2 separate regions of the Homo sapiens genome follow, and region 2 is linked to region 1. The links are contacts of gene promoters, found by promoter capture Hi-C in human tissues and cell types (Jung and others, 2019). All regions are on one chromosome and are shown on one strand. The core of a region is centred on a gene start or on the middle of the fragment in contact, and the rest is flanking DNA. Distances in the headings are between cores, read along the strand shown. Region 1 holds the start of IRS1 (insulin receptor substrate 1). Region 2 has its middle 81 kb from the start of DOCK10.

Region 1 (2,565 bases), core at 41-2,540:
AAGCAGCTCTCAAGGGGGATCGAGCGTTTGGGGGCGCTCGACTTGTGCCGCCACTTCTTCTCGTTCTCGTAGTACTCGAGGCGCGCCGGGCCCCCAGCCTCGCTGGCCGCGCGCAGTACGAAGAAGCGTTTGTGCATGCTCTTGGGTTTGCGCAGGTAGCCCACCTTGCGCACGTCCGAGAAGCCATCGCTCTCCGGAGGGCTCGCCATGCTGCCACCGCCACCACCAACGCTGAGCAGAGGGAGGCTCCGAAAAACAACCGGGTGGGGGGCGGAGGCTCCTCGCCGCGGCCCGGCACATGCAAACAGGGCTGGAGGCAGCAGAAACCCCGACTCTGAAATCCACGCCGCCCCCCGCGCCGGGGAGGGGCAGCTGAAGGAGGACGCAGCTGCTGAGCCCAGGAGAGAGCCCGACCGGAGTTTTCGGGCGCTTCACGCCCGGCGGGGAGGCAGTGCGTCCGGGGTGAGGGCAGCCCCGATCCTCCGAGAGCCAAGTCTCCTCTCAGCCGCCGCCGCCACCAGGAAGGAGCGAAGATGCATCTCTCGTCGCCCCGGCTGGAGTCCGGCACAGGGAGGCGACAGTCGGGGGTCCCTGCGGTGCCCCTCCAGGAGCGCGCGCGCGCGCGCGCCTTCCCTCCTGAGTTCCCCTCTGGAAGCAGCGATTCCCGAGGCAAATTAAATATCCTTGGGCAGGGGGAGGCGGGTTGCCAAGTCCCAACGTTGCACGGGGTTCTCCCTCCTCCTTCGCCTCCTCCCACCCCCCAACCGTCCCAGCCGCCACCAGCCGCCCAAATACCAGCTCAGTCGCAGAGACCGCGGCGCTGCGGCTGTTGCTGTTGCTGCTGCTGCTGCTGCTGCTGCTGCCGCCGCCCGCGGGCGCGTCCTCTGCAGCCCCCATCCGGGCCCATCTCGGCGGGTGGAGAAAGTGGCTTTTCCATGCGAAACGATACCGGGCAGCCACTGCAGCTGGGGACCGGCCGGAGGGACAGACTCATCCCTGCCCCTCGCTCCAGGCGGCTGGGGAGGAGGGGAGGGGACAAGGGCGAGAGGGGATGGGGGAGGTTTGGGAAGGGTTCGGGGAAGACGCCTGTTCCTCGGGAGGCGCTGCCGCTGCAGTTACTTCTCCCCTCCTCCCTCCTCCTCCTCCTCCTCGGAGAGTTGCCGAGAGCCCCAACCAAAACAAGCGGCGGCGTCTGGCTCTGCGCGCCGGCCCCCTCCGACCGCGCCGCCGTCTCACTCGGAGGAGAAAAACACGTGACGGAGCCTCCGCGCTCGGCAGCCGGGCAGCCGCCGCCGGGAGGCTCCCGCCCGGGTCTCTACATTCCGGGCCGAGCCCGCCCCGCGCCCGCCCCTCTCCGCCCCCCAGCCGTGCTGCAGCGGCGCCCGCGCCGACCCCGGCGCAGCGCTAGGACAGCGCCCCTGCGCGGCCGCCAGCTCCGGCGCAGCGCCTCCCTACACGCGCGCCAACCGGGGCGCCCCCGGCCCGCAGGAATCCCCGCGGCGGGCGCAGGCGGGGGTGTTTGGGTGGCTACCCGAAAGCACGAGGGGAGTCTGGGAAAACGGGAGGGGGCGAGCTCGGGAAGACGCAGGAGTGAGGGTGGGGGGCCACGGGGGGGCACTGCGGCTACAGAGCCCCGAGTGGGAGGCCGGGGGGAGGCGGGGGCGCCGGAGCTGGGCTGCCTCTTACCTATCAGGTAAGACTGACCCACGGGAGGGAGGTTTCTAGTCAAGGCTGTTTCCCCCAGGAAATTTAAAAGCTAGATTTCGGCTTCAGGGCGATAGGCCATGGTGAGGGGATCTGTATTTTTTAAGGTTTTTCTAAAGGACTTCTGGGCCAGCCTTCCACCTTGGGATCCCCAGATTTGCTGCCGTGAGGTACCTGGAAGGAACAGAGGGACGCCCAAGGGCAGTGACTGGGGGCAGTTATGGTCACTACAAAAGGAGAACAGGGATCCCCAGGAAGTGTCTCACGTCCGGCGCTGTGGAATTAGTTGCTGATCAAGTAGGGAGAAAATGTAAATATCACCTTTTCTCCTGCTCCCCTTGCCCATCCGTGTGACGGGGGGACTCACACCTAAGGCTGAGGGCATGGGGGAGGGGAAATGAGAGGTCCCTTATCATATTCCGAAGTCTATCCGTGACTTTAAAAAGCTGTTAGGGACCTTCAGAGGGTTCATAAGGCCAAAACCCTACTGTGCAAATATTGGCTGAAATGTTTGTTTCACACACAGCTCCCACACCCATTGAACCACCCTATAAGTTTTTAACCTTGACCACAAGGATAACAGGGAGAAAACAAGGATGGTGCCAGCTCAACTGTACAGGAAAATGGTTACTTCATGAGTGGACCAGATCAGCAGCCTGGGTCTACTTGAAGCGCCCCTTTCAGGGTCACCTTGCGGTATCAGTCTCCCCACAAACAAACGCTCCCCAGAGTTTTTTTATTTTTTAAGCCGACCTATAAACAAGCAGTTTGTCCCTGCTTGCTCGCCTGGCACTAAGGACCCACAGAGATGTCACTCGGTTTAATGCTGTCTCATTTTGATGCCTGGCCCGTTTGGGGTTG
Region 2 (2,565 bases), core at 21-2,520, 1.7 Mb before region 1:
TGCTCCCACAGCCCTAGATAGGACTACCTGGAAGCCTTTCTTCTCTAGGAGCCTAACACCTCATCTTTGTGGGGCTCCTTCCAACTGAGATTTGCTTTTCTTCTTCAATGCTTATTTTTATCCTGTTCCAGAAGATCTAAAGTCTCACCCTCCAGCCTACTAGCAAAAACATAAAGTCTCTTAAAAGAATACATATAACACTGTATTATAAAATATTACATAATATAATTTGTATTAGTCTGTCCTGCCACTACTATAAAGAAATGCCTGAGACTGGGTAATTTATAAGAAAAGAGATTTAACTGGCACAATGTTCCACAGGTTGTACAGGAAGCACGGCCGCATCTGCTTCTGGGGAGGCCTCAGGGAGCTTTTACTCATGGTGGAGCAGGTGTCTTACACGGCAGGAAAAGGACCCAGAGAGAGAGAGAGGTGATACACACTTTGAAACAACCAGATCTCGCGAGGACTCACTCACTCTACAGTACCAAGAGAGGATGGTGCTAAATCATTCATGAGAACTCCGCCCTCAGGATCCAGTCACCTCCCACCAGGCCCCGCCTCCAACAGTGGGGATTATGATTTGACCTGAGATTTTGTGGGGACACAGATCCAAACCGTACCAACATTATATATATTTCTCTGAAAGAACCCATTCTCCCTCAATTAAAAAAGCTTTGTGTATTATTAAACATACATTTAACATTCCACGGTTTCTTCACCAATGTCTGGTCAGTGTGTAGGTTCTTGAGTTTTGACTGAAAGGATTCACCAGGGAGAGTTGCCAGAACACAGAAAACTCTGCCCCAGAGCCTCATCCATGCTTCTATGTACAGCTCAACAAAACACATTTTTTAAAAGCATTTTGTCCTTTTTACATTACTTTTAGCTATTTTAAACATATAGGTATAGTCTCAGAGCTTCCAGTCAAATATGGATCGTCAAGCGGAAGCGGAGGACAGCCTTCCCTTAGAGAGCGATTTTCATCTGTGCTCCATCCCCATCGTGGTTTTATCTGTGTGGAAATGCGCTTCTTTGAAGTGCCGTTAACTAAGCGGGGATGGAGGAATTGGCTAGGAGCCAGGTTATAACCTTCTTACTTGGAATATTCGTCTATATCCTACGTAATGAAGTGCATTAACGTTTATACATTTTATTGCAGTTATTTAGTCAATTTTTTTATTGTAAACCAACATGGATGCTTTGTCTCAGGCATATTCTAATTAGATTATTTTAAATAAAATTATAAAGACGGCAGGATTCAGAAACGAAGTATTTATAATAAATTTGTTATTGCCAATACTAAATATTTTCTCATTTGTAGTTCCCCAGTCTGTCAGCAGGTTGCAGCAGAGGGCTGGCTTTAGTTTTAAATTAGCATGTTAAAGAGCATTAAAATATTTCTCCCTCCCTCCCTCCCCTTCCTTCCTCCTTTCCTCCTTTCCTCCCTCCCTCCCTCCCTCCCTCCCTCCCTCCCTCCCTCCCTCCCTCCCTTCCTTCCTTCCTTCCTTCCTTCCTTCCTCTCTCCCTCCCTCCCTCCTGCCCTCCCTCGCTTCTTTCCTTCTTTTTCCTCCCCTTCCATCCTTCTTCTTTCCTTCCTTCTGTCCTTTGTATCTTCCTTCTTTCTTCCTCCTTCTCTTCCTTGTTTCCTTTATTCCTTTATTCTTTCTCTCTCTTTTCTCATCCCTCCCTTCCTCCCATCTTTCCTCCTTTCTCTTTCTTCATTTCCTCCCGTCCTCCCTTTCTTTTCCTTCTTTCTTTTCCTCAGTTTTTTTCCTCTCTCTCTTTCTTGCCTCTATCCTTTCCTTCCTCCCTTCCTTCCTTCCTTCTATTTTCCTTCCTTTCTCGTTACTTTTTCTTACAATATGAACATGATACTCAATTACATTCTGTAAATGGAGGAGCTGACTCAATAGTAAAGTGTTTATGTATGTGTATATTTAAAATGATGTCTACCTTTTAGGATTTTTTTAAAATAGTACTGTAGTTAAAGATGGAGACCTTATATAGAAGAATAGAGTATCAATAACAATAAGAGTAGATAAACTTATAATTTGACTAACAAAGATAACAATAGCAAAGCCCAGATTTGGTGTGATGTATACAAACTCTTAGGATCACACTCCACTCATATAGCATATGCAAATGGCCTTGTTTTTGCAACTGCATTTGGAAATGTGGAAGAGGGAAAAAGGCATTTCAATCATAGCTCTCATTAGTTATTCACTGTATCCAGGCCGCTCAATTGTGCTTCTGTCTTTAATGTAATAGTAAGCAATAATCTCACAGCTGTGCTTTGTAGAGTGAACTATATAAGCATCTATATTGAGATTTCATACACACATAACATAAAAGCAAGAGAAAAGCATCAAGAATACCGCTTGGCCCATTGCAAAACCATACAAAAGAAATAATAACTCTCCCTCAGAACGGTTTTGTAGAGTGACCAGCTGTAAGATAGACTTGTATTCTATAATGAAATCACCATTCAAAAAGTGATTACTTCAAGGTATGACACTACTTTCCCTTTGAAACATTGATATCTTTAATTATACAACATCAGTA

The links. The method cuts DNA at HindIII sites, captures the fragments that hold promoters and counts their contacts. A contact is called where the count stands out against the background at its distance.
Region 2: a contact is called between a fragment that was not itself captured here and the fragment with the promoter of IRS1 in region 1, in 1 of the 25 tissues and cell types used here (dorsolateral prefrontal cortex).

The regions. Positions count from the first base shown.
Region 1 is chr2:226,798,530-226,801,094 of GRCh38, forward strand. IRS1 (insulin receptor substrate 1) reads right to left here and starts at 1,291. Exons shown (of 2, transcript NM_005544.3): 1 at 1-1,291. The coding sequence starts at 209. It also overlaps a transcript of RHBDD1 not described here. RefSeq lists silencers at 110-159, 1,150-1,569, 1,590-1,659. The HindIII fragment of the contact is 12,102 bases long and covers 1-2,565 here.
Region 2 is chr2:225,121,719-225,124,283 of GRCh38, forward strand. No RefSeq gene overlaps it. Among named protein-coding and RNA genes, the nearest start is that of DOCK10, 81 kb to the left of the region's middle. The HindIII fragment of the contact is 6,487 bases long and covers 1-2,565 here.